Linked DNA regions of Homo sapiens: all the other regions are linked to region 1. The links are contacts of gene promoters, found by promoter capture Hi-C in blood cells and fetal thymus (Javierre and others, 2016). All regions are on one chromosome and are shown on one strand. Each heading gives the region's core, a stretch centred on a gene start or on the middle of the fragment in contact. The rest is flanking DNA. Distances are from core to core; before and after follow the strand shown. Region 1 holds the start of SUMO4 (small ubiquitin like modifier 4). Region 2 overlaps UST (uronyl 2-sulfotransferase). Region 3 has its middle 48 kb from the start of UST-AS2. Region 4 has its middle 65 kb from the start of UST-AS2.

What was found. The method cuts DNA at HindIII sites, captures the fragments that hold promoters and counts their contacts. A CHiCAGO score of 5 or more calls a contact.
Region 2: a contact is called between a fragment that was not itself captured here and the fragment with the promoter of SUMO4 in region 1, in 1 of 17 cell types (non-activated CD4 T cells). The highest score is 6.9, in non-activated CD4 T cells.
Region 3: a contact is called between a fragment that was not itself captured here and the fragment with the promoter of SUMO4 in region 1, in 13 of 17 cell types (activated CD4 T cells, total CD4 T cells, naive CD8 T cells and 10 more). The highest score is 16.5, in activated CD4 T cells.
Region 4: a fragment that was not itself captured here is called in contact with the fragment with the promoter of SUMO4 in region 1 in 9 of 17 cell types (naive CD4 T cells, activated CD4 T cells, naive CD8 T cells and 6 more); the score reaches 11.1 in naive CD4 T cells.

Annotation. Positions count from the first base shown.
Region 1 is chr6:149,397,968-149,401,511 of GRCh38, forward strand. SUMO4 (small ubiquitin like modifier 4) reads left to right here and starts at 2,295. Exons shown (of 1, transcript NM_001002255.2): 1 at 2,295-3,311. The coding sequence starts at 2,425. The coding sequence ends at 2,712. TAB2 (TGF-beta activated kinase 1 (MAP3K7) binding protein 2) reads left to right here. Exons shown (of 7, transcript NM_001292034.3): 5 at 2-95; 6 at 1,137-1,217. The HindIII fragment of the contact is 27,910 bases long and covers 1-3,544 here.
Region 2 is chr6:149,016,236-149,019,821 of GRCh38, forward strand. It overlaps UST (uronyl 2-sulfotransferase), which reads left to right. Exons shown (of 8, transcript NM_005715.3): 6 at 2,904-3,001. Among named protein-coding and RNA genes, the nearest start is that of UST-AS2, 15 kb to the right of the region's middle. The HindIII fragment of the contact is 2,434 bases long and covers 797-3,230 here.
Region 3 is chr6:149,078,639-149,082,224 of GRCh38, forward strand. No RefSeq gene overlaps it. Among named protein-coding and RNA genes, the nearest start is that of UST-AS2, 48 kb to the left of the region's middle. RefSeq lists an enhancer at 1,335-1,454. The HindIII fragment of the contact is 6,234 bases long and covers 1-3,586 here.
Region 4 is chr6:149,095,491-149,099,076 of GRCh38, forward strand. No RefSeq gene overlaps it. Among named protein-coding and RNA genes, the nearest start is that of UST-AS2, 65 kb to the left of the region's middle. The HindIII fragment of the contact is 3,150 bases long and covers 173-3,322 here.

The DNA of each region.
Region 1 (3,544 bases), core at 1,045-3,544:
GCTTGAAGAAATGCAGCAGCTGAGAAGTTGTAATAGACAACTCCAGATTGACATTGACTGCTTAACCAAAGAAATTGATCTTTTTCAAGCCCGAGGTAAAGTTCAGTGTATTTGTAGCTGAAATTCATCGTATTTAATTCACCAGCAGTTTTTCTGTGGCTAAAAACAGACTTATCAATCATAATCTTACTGTCTCAGAACATGTGGCTTTGGAGCCAGACAGACTTTTAAGAATATATTTAAAAAGTCACCCCCATCTCAATGGCACTATCTTAACTGATAAAATATAGAAGATAGTAAAAATAAGGTTTATACATTCTTTAGACAATGATAGTTTCTTATACTTGAGCTATTAATGACAAGCAATGTTTTCTTATAGTAAATAATGTTTACAATTTAATTCAGTTCCATAGAGAACTAAAAGGAAATGTTATCACTTAAACCTAATTCTGAAGTTGGATAAATAATAAAAAGATATAAAATGGAAAAGACAGGAAGGGGAAGGAATCTAACCAAAAGAGAAGTCTTTAATCACACTTGGGACTGTGTTCTAGAATCTGTTCAACTGGAAGATGATTATTTTTATTTTTATTCTTTTTAAATGTTGATTAAGCTATTTATCTTTAAACATTCATAGAAAAATACCATAATTTAACTCTAAAAAGTTGGTGCTGTTCTAGAAACTACAATCCTTGAACTTACTCTTTTTGTGTAAAATTTTAACCATTCTATTACATAGTGCAAGGTTTTTATATTTACTTGAGGTAAAGCTGTTTAGTTACTTAAGTCCATGTTTGATCGTTTAAAATTACATTTTAAATTGTGAAATTTTAAGTTATTTTAACTTGCCACATAGAACAGGGATCTACTTCTACTTCTATTAATGTCTTACCAGCATTAATTTGACTTCTTTCACAGTTTACCACTTACCCGTGTTTATGAGTACTACATTATACCTAAGATAATATATTTGAAATATGTTTTGAAATCTTACATATAATTCGAGGTTAGAGGGGCAAAATAAATGAAAAGCATTTCTTATAGCGTGTTTATTTTTAGAAAGAAATACTTGTTTTAAAAAGTAAAGTTGTTTTTGAGCTATAAGCATTGATATATTTACTTTTTATATATTTCAGGACCACATTTTAACCCCAGCGCTATTCATAACTTTTATGACAATATTGGATTTGTAGGTCCTGTGCCACCAAAACCCAAAGGTTAGTGTATCCATTAAATGTGAAAACTGTTACTTTTGAAAAGCAAAATTTTAGAAAATTTTTCCTGTTCAGCAACCTTCCTCTCTAGAATTGCTTCAAACTTTGGCATTCTTAAATGAATTCATTAAGAAGATGTTTGCTTATTTTCATTTACATGCTTGGGGTTGGGAAGGATGCAAAGATGTAATATTCTTAGCTTTTTAAAAGTAATATGCACGAGCTTAGGAAACACTATGTACTCCCAACCAATAATAGCAAGTCTTGGTTAAAAAACAATTACTAAGTACAAAAATTTGTATCATTTAAAACTTTAGACAAATGATAAGGAAGATACCTTAGGGAAGTTCCCCCCCCCCATGAGTATTTAGTTTAATTTATATATAACTTTAAGTAATCAAAATACCCTAAATTCCAGGTGAATAGTTTTCTACCTTCTATCATTTTACATCATTGATATTCTCAGAATATATGCACACCAAACTAAGACATTTCAAAGTATGTCTGTGTGTTTTGATCCAGGCATTAAAATGTGTGTAGAAATGGAAACAGGTACATAAATATCACTGCTGAAGGTAAAAATATAGACATATTTACAGATTAACACTTAACCGTGGTATATAATTTACTTTCAACTCTAATAAGAAAGTTAAAAGGTAAAAATGTGTTAATGGATACATAATATTAAAAGAAGAAAACTGCAAGAACACAAAAGTGTGGGAGGGTGGAGGTTGTAAAGATGCAGTAGTATTTTTGTATGCATTTGAAGTTAAGTTGTTATCAACTTAAAATAGAAGAGTATAACCAAATATAATCAAAGTAAATCACGATTAAACGTTGTCGAATAACAAGACAATAAGAGGAAAAGAGGAGCAAAACAGTTGTCAAATAGACAGGAAGCAACAAACTGCCAATAGTAAGTCCTCACTTATTAGTAATTACCTTAACTGGAAATGGATTAAACTCACCACTCACAAGGAGTTGTATGAATGGATTTTAAAAACAGGATCTGGCAGCAGCCAATGGGAGGCCCCAACAGCTCGTGCTGGCGCACACAGCGGGAGGGGAGGGAGCCCAGGATGTGCACGCACCCTCTCCCTCATCCACCGCTGTCACCTCCTGCTGCTCTTCCTGCTGCTCGTGTACTCGTTAGGTGCGGACCCGCCACCTCTTTTGTGAAGCAGCAGCTGAGGAGACTCCGGTGTTCACCATGGCCAACGAAAAGCCCACAGAAGAAGTCAAGACTGAGAACAACAATCATATTAATTTGAAGGTGGCGGGACAGGATGGTTCTGTGGTGCAGTTTAAGATTAAGAGGCAGACACCACTTAGTAAACTAATGAAAGCCTATTGTGAACCACGGGGATTGTCAGTGAAGCAGATCAGATTCCGATTTGGTGGGCAACCAATCAGTGGAACAGACAAACCTGCACAGTTGGAAATGGAAGATGAAGATACAATTGATGTGTTTCAACAGCCTACGGGAGGTGTCTACTGAAAAGGGAACCTGCTTCTTTACTCCAGAACGCTGTTCTTTAAAGACCAAGATTACTGCATTCTCAATTAGAAAACTGCAATTTGGTTCCACCACATTCTGACTACTACAGTATAGTTTTCTCTATTCTTTTGTTTCCCCCTTCCACATTCTTTTATTATACATGAAGTAACTGGTATGTGTACACAAGCATATTGCTTTTTTCTTCAAACCAAACAGCCAATGGTATGTTTTGATTGACATCAAGTGGAGACAGGATGGGAAAAAATACTGATTCTGTGAAAATACCCCCTTTATCCATTAGTGGCATGTTCATTCAGGTCTTATCTTTATATTCTAGTAAGTTATTTTGCTCTCACTGTTTTAACAACAACAAAAAAAAATTCTCACATACCTTGTTCAATTGGAGGATTTTCATGTTTTTCATTTATCATTGTAAAACCAAGGACAATTTTATAACTTTTGTGTACATAGCTGTTACATGTAGGGCAATCTGTCTTTAAGTAGGGATAAATTACTCTAAAAAAAAAAGAAAGAATCCTAGAAAGTTTTTCCTTCAAGTCAGGCTTCTTATTTAAATAAACTTTTTGTTTAAAATGAAATAAAAATAAAAACAGGATCCAATAATATACTATCTACAAGAGACTCATTTTATATTTAAAGACACACATAGGCAGAAAGTGAAGGGATGGAAAAAGATTTTATATAAATGGTAGCTAAAAGAAATCAAAAGTGGCTATAATTATATCAGAAACAATAGATTTTTAAGTCTAAAACTTGAGACAAAGATTATTATGTAATGGTAAAAGGATCAATTCCACAGAAAAATATAAAA
Region 2 (3,586 bases), core at 764-3,263, 380 kb before region 1:
AAAACTAGGAATTTATGTCTTCCTATAAATTGACCTCGTGAGGTTATTTGTGGATTCCAATAGGGAAGTGGCCTTCTTAGGCCCCAGTGCCTCCTCCGCCCTCCCCTCACCAGCCAGCTGATGCCCTCTGTCTACTCCTATGAGCCCGGGGTTGCTGAGGACAAAACCCTGGCAGGGTCAGCAAATGGAAGAGGTGTCTGCTTCCTTTCTTGCTCTGGAGCAGTGTGCCTTGTCTCTCTCCTTCTGCCATTTATTCACTCACTCATTCAGTATCTATTGCACTCCTGCTTTAGTCCAGGCAGGGTGCTGAGCACTGGAGATGCAGTGAACAGTCTGTGCTCTGAGGGACCTACAACCTAAACAAATAAGCACACAAGTACTTGCTCAAGGGCAGCTCTGGAGAAGCAGCAGGTGCCATGAGAGCCTCTGTAGGAGGCTCTGGCGGTCTCTGATGCCCTGCTCCTCCTGTTAATGCAGGACTCTGGGGGGCTGACTGCGTATGTGACAGTTCTTTGGATGTTCCCCATCACTTTACTCCGTCCTTCTTTGTGAAATCTCGACCTCAGCAGATGAACACTGTCCTGGCCAGAATCACCCTAGGCTCTGCTTCTCACCCAGCTCCTGGCCCCCTCCCTGTTGCCACTGCTGCAGAGGGAGGCCACCAGGGTTATTGGGTCCCTCGGACTAAAGGCTCAGGTTCCAAGGGGAGGCCAACTACCAGAGGACACCCTCAAATGTGAGCAGGGCAGGGGGCTCAGAGCATCCTCAAGGCAAAGCACAGGCACCCGCCCGCACAAGCTTTGGTTTGTTTCACAGTGTGTAAATCTCTGTACAGTTTTCTCACAATAAATGTAAGATGCAGCCGGGCACAGTGGCTCACGCCTGTAATCCCAGCTCTTTGGGAGGCCGAGGCGGGCGGATCATGAGGTCAGGAGATGGAGACTATCGTGGCTAACACGGTGAAACCCCATCTCTACTAAAAATACAAAAAATTAGCCGGGTGTGGTGGCGGGCACCTGTAGTCCCAGCTACTCGGGAGGCTGAGGCAGGAGAATGGCGTGAACCCGGGAGGTGGAGCTTCCAGTGAGCCGAGATCACGCCACTGCAGTCCAGCCTGGGGGACAGCAAGACTCTGTCTCAAAAAAAAAAACAAAAAAAGTAAGATGCGTACATTGTAATAAAAGCTAACACTTCAAAAAAGGAATAAGGAAAAATTCAGTATATTCTCATCTTCCTTTATGCCAACCACCAGAAAAAACTGCTTTCAATCGTGTGCTGTGTCTCCTTCCAGATCCTTTTGTGTTTATGTAAACATGTTGATTTTTATATTGTCCTACATGTTTATATTGTCCTGTAGTCTATACTTTCATTCACTTGAAAATTTATCCAAGACTTTTCAGGATAGCACACACAGATCCTTCTCATTTTTTCCAGGTATCCAGTATTTCAGTGTGTGAATGTACCATAATTTCTCTTAAAACCAATCCCCCGTTCGTGAACATGTAAATTCTGCCATATTTTGTTGTAATAAATAAACTCATTGCAGCAATGAATATCCATATATACACACACACACACACACACACACACACACACACACACATCTGTCAGTGTCAAACTCTTCTTAGAAAGGTATTTCAGGTCTAGTGTCTTGCATTTTAATGGGTTTTCATACACAATGAGATGCTCTTAATCACCCTCACCACATGGCTGGACAGACATATGCACCCCCCTATTCACTTCTCATATGTTCCTCCCTGGAAACTGCACCTCCGCCTCTCATGGTAAACTCAAGTGCTTGAGTACTCTCAATTGTGTTTTTTGCAGATTCTGTTTATTTCCGTTGAATTTGTTATTGTAATTGTGTAATTTACTTAATTGGCATATAAACTGAAGAAGTATGAGGGGATTATTGTTTTTAAGAAAAAGCATAAATTATATTTCTCTCATTCCCAATTTGAACTAAAAAAATTGTTACTAGCTAAACACCCACACCTAAACACCTACACCCACACATGTATATCAGATACAGTAGCTTCTACCGACTCATAATTTCATCAACCATATTTGGGAGTTGTGTCCAGTCTTAATCTGCCTTGCCAGTATAGTCTCTGGAAAAACATCCTACAGCTGTTTGGTTTATTTGTAGATTGAGTTATCTTTTCTCCTTAGAAATACCTGAGAATGAGGCATGTCTTATTTAGAATCTCTAATATGATCTACCTTGATAAAAGTTGGTTTTGAGCCCTTCTGCTTACCCCCACCAAGCCATTTCAAGCTCTGGTAACGCCCTCAGAAACACCATGTCCAACCTCATATAAGAGAAATGGAAAACCTGGACGTCACAACTGTTGCCTTTGAAAGTGAGAGGGTGTCTGTATATAAACATCCTGCTACTTTTTAAGCTAATATAGTGTTAGAAGTGATTTTACAGCTCCTCTAAAATTTGCAAACTCTTATGAGACTATTGTAGGTACTTAGTTGTTGGATGCATGGATACACAGAGAAGCCCTAAATTCATGCAACAAACATTTATTAATTGCCAACTGTATACCTACTAATTGGCTGGCAACTGGTGGCGCCACCACGAAGCACAGTGGGTACCACTGTTCTCCCAAGGCCTGTGACCAAACTTAAGACTCGGAGCCACCAGGAAGTGCAGAGATGCAGTTTACTCAACAGAGCATGCACTCTCTAAAATGGCCCAGCCCTGTGTGTGCCTGGCCAGTGGAGCAGGATGCTGGGAGGCAAAAAATAAGTTTTCTCATGAAATCTGTGAATTCTCTTCATCTTCTCAAGGCGTGCCTGTGTAATTCAATCATGAATTTTACTTAAACTGTGTGGCATTTGATAGAGCCTTGCAGAGACTACAAGACATCTGACTGCTGTATTTTCTCTTCTAGGATATCAATGAGTGTATTCTTGAAAACTATCCCGAGTGCTCCAACCCCAGGTTATTTTACATCATTCCGTACTTTTGTGGACAGCATCCCAGATGCAGGTAAGGGCTAAAGCAGGGTCATGGCATGCACGTACGCACAACAAGGGCAAGAACCCCACCAGCCTGGTACTCGGTGGGAATCTTTTGTATCCCTAGTCTCTCAACCTTCTGGAATTCAGTTCCTGTTTACTATTAATCTTTCAAGATAATATTTGAGACTCCAAATGTCCTATAAATAATGAAATTTAAAAATCAGGGTCTGTAGAGGCCTCAGGAGACCACCATATAAAGCTTTGTAACTGGAACCAAACCCTTGTTTATACCTAAAACATACTTGTCACTACTCATCCCATGTTGTTTGTCTTTCTCTTTGGATAAAATGACAAAATGTCACATAAAATGTGATCGTGAAGACCAGGAGCGAACACCCAGCCTGCTCCTGTACAGTGACTGACTTAACCAACAACCTGCCCTCGTAGCATGTGTCACTGGGTCTGAGACACTGGAAGCCCACACCTCAATCCCATAGTGGATATACTTAGTAGGCAGAGAAGAAAGTGTTTTATAATGATCACCTGTCAACCTTACTTGAAGGCACAACCTTCTTTAGAGAGTGACTTACTCAGATAGTCAGGACCCCCAGGG
Region 3 (3,586 bases), core at 356-2,855, 320 kb before region 1:
AGTGCTGGCAGGGTTGGTTCCTCCTGAGGCCTCTCTCCTGGGCTTGCAGAGGGCACCTTATCCCTGCATCCTCCCGTGTCCTTCCCCCGTGCCTGTCTGTGTCTTGATCTCTTCTTCTAAGGACCGCAATCATATTGGATTAGGGCTCACTCTAATGACCTCATTTTAACTTAATGACTTCGTTTAAGACCCTAATATGGTTTGGCTGTGTCCCCACCCAAATCTCATATTGAATTGTAGTTCCCATAATCCCCACATGTGAAAGGGACCCGGTGATGGATAATTGAATCATGGGGGTGGTTACCCCCATGCTATTGTTCTCGTGATAGTGAGTTCTCATGACATCTGATGGTTTTATAAGGGGCTTTTCCCCTTTTGCTGGGCGCTTCTTCTTGCTGCTGCCACCATGTGAAGAAGGACATGTTTGCTTCCCCTTCTGCCATTATTGTAAGTTTCCTGAGGCCTCTCCAACCATGCTGAACAGTGAATCAATCAAACCTCTTTCCTTTATTAATTATCCAGTCTTGGGTATGTCTTAATATTAGCAGTGTGAAAACAGACTAATACAGATCCTATTTCCAAAAATGCTCACATTCTGAGATACTTGGTTAAGACTTTCATATATGAATTTGTGGGGGACACACAATTCAGCCCATAACACCCAGACTATAGCAGAAAAGTTAGGGCAGAGGAACTGAATTCCTACTAGGAGAGAAGCAAGCCTCAAAGTGCAGATTCCTATAGTTGCATTGGGGCTCTGGAGCAGTGATCTGGTCCATTCCCTCATTTTACAGACAAGGAAAACCAAGGTCCAAAGAGGAGACACAAATATGTCACATGCTAACTTTGCCCATTGAGGGTTCCCTTAACTTTTGAAGCAGCTACCAAATTAAAACTTTAAAAAGATGATATAGCCAAAGCCCATCTACAGACCTAGGATCCAGAATGAAAGTGATGAGGCACTTTCAGCCACACCCACTGCCACCTGCTGTACTGGAGCAGCCTCACCATAGGGCTCTCCTGGGAGCCGGGGCTTTGGAACTCGCCTTTCCACAGAGGGAGGGGAGGCCCTATTGGTTTTCAGTCACTGAAGTCCTCAGAGACAAATCCCAAATAAATATTTTATTTTTAATTTTTCTGTCTGCTCAAAAGACACAGAGAGGTTCTTGTTCCTTGGTAAACAGACTTGGAGCATGTTTGCCCATCTCAGATTACAGAGTTTTATTTCTCTTAAAGGCAAAATGAAGATTCTTGTCCTACTTCCTGTAACGAGTTTCAGATGGACCCACCTCCAAAAATATAGTCAAAATGCAGTTCATAAAACTAGGGGAAGTCAAGTACAGACATGTCCCAGGAAAGCAGAACCAGAGGAGAAGCAGACCCCGGGCACTCGCAGGACTATTTGACTCACTGGAGAATTCCCTTCTGCCAGGGCAGGCTTGGCTCACTGCTCCAAGCACTGCAGATTCCCAAGGAACACCCAGGCCCACAGATGTTCATGGGTCACAGAATTGTGAACTGACCACTTGTGCATTTTGGATTTCAACTTGTAAACATGGGGATTCCCTTTTTACAAAAAGAAAAAGGAGAGGATGAAAAATCACCATGCAAAGGAAAGTTGAGAGCTAAGTTTTTCCTTTTGGAATCTTGGCATGCGCATTTAGCTATCTTCAATCTGGCTTTCACCAGACGCTGTGTGCTTTGAGCAGGGGTGGAGCAGTCTGCCCTGTGCCGCTCTGCCAGAACATTCAGACTTGACCTGTCACAGGCCTCTTATTCCAGTCAGGAGCAGACACGGCCCAGGAGATGGGCCCTGCCAGACACAGCAGGCTGCCTTTGAGGTGCAACCAGAGAGGCAGTAAAAACCTGGGAGGAGAGCATTTGACTGACTAGGCTGGGGGCTGCCCACCAGTCAAGTCCCCGAGTTCAAGTCCCAGCTGTTCTGTTTCACTGGGCATCAGTGTAAATCATTTGACCTCCATCGGTCTGAAATCGACTCAGCTGGAAAACATTAGAAAGAAAATAAAACATCTACTGAAAACCAAGAGCTGCTTCTGGGATGAACCATTTCCCACCCTTGACCCCTAAATGCTAAAAGACTGAGCCACAACACTTCCTAAGCTGATGAAAGGTTTGTTCTCACCACAGAACACTGTATCCCCAGCAAGAGGGCATAGAATTACATATAGTCATTCCAGGTTGCCTGAAGCCCCCGTTCCTTCATGTCTGCAAGTGGCATTGCCCAGTATGCTGTGAGTCGATGGACAGCAGCATTTCTGAAATGTGAATTGAGCTCCCAGGAGTAGGCACATCCTCCTGGGCATGAGATAGAGCAAATGCAGCAAGGACCTGTCCTGAAGAAGCATCGGTCCCTTCCTCCTGGCCTGGTTTCCACTGTTCTGTTTACTGTGCCATTATCCAAGATAAACCAGTCTGTGGAATTCCACTTTTCTCAAGCATTCTTTGGGACGAGTTTGTCTAGCTGCAAGTTAGAAGATTCAGCTCTAATTCACAGCTTGTACTAAATACAGGCTTCCTCTAACTTATTTAAACTACTGTGTGTATCTGTGATCCCATGACTAATGGTAATAATGAGCCTAAAACATCCATGTGAATTAATACAGGTTGTGCACAAAGAAAAGTGTTAGTAAAAATTGGAAACCTGGCAGGACGGGGGTACTAAACTTCTTGGAGGGTCATTTCTCATTCTCAGAAGTAGTGTTACTGCTGTGATGTGGGAAAAATCTGGCAATGATTTTGTGGGCTGGTGATGTTTCCAGCATGGTTGATTCCCCATAGGACTGCCATGTTGAAAAACTTTAATGTGTTGTATTACTAATCTTTCAAATGCAGAAGAGAGTTAAGACACTGACCACAAACTTCCTTATAGTCACCTTAAGTTTTGCACATATCAAATTTACTATTTGCTTTTTCTCCTTTTGGCACACTTTCCTGTATGGTGTCCATCTTTGGAAACTAGTGAAATTCTAGTCCAATGTGTATTCTCAAAGGATAATTCATGAACCAAGTGTGTGAGATAGGCATGAAAAAAAATCGTGTTAAATAATTTTGGAAGTGCTGCAGTTCATAGTGTGGTGTTACACAGTATGGTAGTATATTCAGAGTATACTAAGGACTCATGCATACTGAAGCATTTTTAAAAATTAATTGATCTTTTGTTGAATTTCAAATTTCTCAAAAGTATTTGCCATGAAACCCTTATTTGCATAAGACCCATTGATATCCTGTGGAACTAGTGTTCTGGAGACTACACTTTGAGAAACAATGCTTTAATGCAAATTATTGGATTACATTTTTCCTCATTGGAAGACTTGTTTTCCTCTTGCTGTGGTTCAATTTTGGTCCGTGCATCGTGCTTGAAGAAAATATATTTGCATCAGATGACGAACATGTTGATAAAAAGAAGATGGGGACAAATAACATTTTTAGAAAATAACAAGGAATCATCTTTCAGTTTTGCTTATTCTCCTAATTACATTCCTCTATCTCGGGAAAAAGTAGAAACTCTTTTCAAGGTAAAATTTTTTATACTTTTCAATATTATTTGGGTACCTTGAATTAATTC
Region 4 (3,586 bases), core at 498-2,997, 300 kb before region 1:
ATCTATCATACTAGTTGCTAAGAGATTTTAAAGGAAGCTGAACGTTAACTCTACTGATACCAGGTTAGATACATCTTCATAAGCTGAGGAATAATTGGGATCACAGGAATCAAACAAATCCATACATTGAAAATCACAGTCACTATATAAAGAAAAGGAAGCTGCATAGGAAAGCTTCTGGCACTGAGGTTGAGATCACACTGCAACAGAAATTATTTGAATTCTAAGCCAACATAAGAAAAAAAGAATTTATTCTAAAATTTATTGAACAAGTTTGGAGCAAGCATCAATGACCATATGCTTGGAAATGCTGCGTGGGATGATAAAGGTTTATTATTGTTCCCAGACAGGTCCAGTGTAGTTAAAAATGGTGGATGCCAGCTGTCTATTGATGTATATACTTTGTATAGAAAACATTCAAGGTCAGAGTGGCTGGTGCCCTGAGTAGAGATAGTGCTTTCCAGTGTTAAGGAGGCTTAAAGCACGATGGGATAGATCTGTGTGGTTTTCCCTTCATGCATAAAGCAGAAAGAAGTGTGTTCCTGTCCTATCTCCCCACACATCTCCCCCACCACTACCCCTGCACACACATTCTTTCCCAGCAGCCTGCACCTTCAGAAAGGGGAAATTCTCATCACACATTCAACTCTTAAAGAAGCATAAGGAAATGACCAGTCTTAAGGACCCTCCAGGGACACTGTTTCTCCTGTCCTTCCCTTTACTGCTGTGTCTATTCTCTTCAGCCAAAGGGTGTCATGGAAAAAAAGAGAAGGGGCACCCAAGCCAGACTCTCAGTCATTAAAGAAGCACCAATCATTGAGATTGTAAGAACTAAGCCAATACAATGACCATTCAAGTAAGATCTTAGGATTTCTGGTGACTGTATACTCAGCTATGTGCTGTTTAACTGAGAATCTCAATGATCCAGGTGTCTTTGTCCATGTTCAAAGTGAAGAGCCTGGAGGTTACAGATAATGAATCCCCATTGATCCAAAGTTATTGTGGATAAAATCATTCTAGCTAATTGTCTATTCATTCTAATAGCTATTTACTCAGTTCTATTAATATTGCCCTCAGAGTTTGCATTCATGTCTGGCTCCCCCAGCTACCCTGTGAACTTCTGCAGGGCTTATTCCTTCATTCACCTACCAGTGGCTACTCAGAACTTCACATTTGGAGACATTCCAAAAATGTGTATTACCTCCCACAGCTTCTTGCCCTTAAGGCCCTGCTCCTTCTGGTAAGCCCAAGGTGCCATTTTGAGAATTTAACACTGTGCTATGACCCACACTTGGTTTGAATTCAGGCTGACATGGTGGCAGCTGCTGCCCAGCCAAGGAGAGACAGGGAAACCAGGCTATTTTATGCACATCCAGGAGAATACTCACTGCCCTGCAGTGGGCTGCTATGAAACTGAGATGTGAGTAGATTACACTCCCCACAGCTTCTGGCCTATGCTGCTTGCCTGGGATGGATACCATCCTCCCTGGTCCCAAGCCCAAGACACTATTTTAAGACATTAATGCTGGGCTTGAGACTTTTGGGCTGAGCTTGGGCTAACATGGCTGCAGCCACCACCTGGCCAAGGAGGGACAGGAAAACCAGGTTCCCCTATGCATACCTAAAACAATATCCACCACTCTGCTATGGGCTGCTATGAAACTCAGACTTGAATGGGCTGCACTCCCCATAGCTTCTTGCACACACTGCTTGCCTTAGTGGGCCCTCATATTCTCTTGTCGCAAGCCCACAGCTAGCATGATTTTTAGAGTTTAACCCTGGGCTGTGCCCCACCCTCAGACCAAGTAGAGGTGATGAGGCTGCAGCTGCCACCCAGCCAGGGAAGGGACAGGGGAGACCAAGCTCCCTTAAGCACACTTAGGACAATACCCACTACCCTTCTACAGGCATCTGTGGGGTGGAGGACTGGCTCACCCAACCTATTGCAGCTTCTAGCAATACCTATTTGAACTGCTTGGGTCCCAGTGGGTTGCTCCACCACTGCTACTGCCATCACCCACATGACACCAGCTTCCCAGGGGCCTGAGAACCCACCCACACACCTAGCCCACTACTATTACTACTAGCTTCTAAGCAAGCCACCTGGAGCCCCAAGCATCAGTGCTCCAGAGTCCACTAACACCAGAGCCAGTGCCTAAAAAGAGGCACATTTATTCCACTGCTGATACTTGGGCCTGAAGACTGGCTCAGTTGGTGTCCAAGTCCCCAGCAAAACTTCACCACAACCTCAACTAATAACTGTACCCTAAGTCACCAAGGAAATCACAGATACCACTGATACTGTATATTGCCAAGGAAGTCACACAAAGATCACAGTACCACAGGCAACCAAAATCAAAGTCAAAGTAGTTTACTCAATCAACATACATACATTCCTAAGAAAAAATTCTCCCCCACAAAAGCAATTTCAAAAAAAATGAAACAAGCAACTACTATACTAGATGAGCAGATATCAACAGAAAGACACAGGAAACATGAAAAACAGGGAAATATGACATCATCGAAGGACAATAAGAATTGCCCAGCAACAGATCCCAATCAAAACGAATTCCCCAAAATGCCAGATAAAGAATTCAAAATATTGATTTTAAAGAAGCTCAATGAGATGCAAGATAATCTGAAAACCAATACAAAGAAACTAGAAAGTCAACTCAGGCTATGAATGAGAAACTTACCAAGCAGGCAGATATCTTTTTAAAAGGCAGAAATTCTGGAACTAAAACATTTATTGAAGAAAATGCAAAATACATTCAAAAGATTCAATAATAGATTACACCAAGTAGAACACAGAATCTCAAAACTTGAGGTCAGGTCTTTTGAAATAATCCAGTGAGACAAAAATAAGGAAAAAAGAATTTTAAAATGAACAAAGTCTTCAAGATGACTGGTACTATATAAAACAAGCAAACTTATGAATTATCACTATTCCCAAGGAGGAAGAGACATCAAAACGTTTAGAAAACCTATTTAAGAAAATAATTGATGAAAACTTCCCAAGTCTATCAAGACATTTAGACATCGAGATCCAGGAAGCCCAATGATCTCCAGGTAAATACATTGCACAAAGGACTTCATCATGGCATATTATATTTAGAATGTCTAAAGTCAAAGTGAAAGAAATAATTTTAAAATTAGCAAGAGAAAAATTGTCTAGTCTCCTATGAAGGAAACACCATCACGCTTTTCAGCAGAAACCTCACAGGCCAGAAGAGAATGAGATTGCATTTTCAAAGTACTGAAATGAAAAAAATAAAATAAAATAAATAACTGTCAGTCAAGAATATTATATCCTGCCATAATAAGCTTCATAAATGAAGGAGACATATAGGCTTTCCTAGACAAGCAAACGTTGAGGGAATTTGTCACCACTAGACCCACTCTACAGGAAATGTCCAAAGCGATCTTAAATATGGAAACAAAAGGTCAATATTCACCATCACAAAACACATGGAACTGTAAAATGCACTGTTCTTATAAAACAATCACACGAAGGAGGAAAAGAAACGAATCAAATGACAACATGATAGAATTTCATCCAACCACAAGGACAACAAGACAGAGAAAA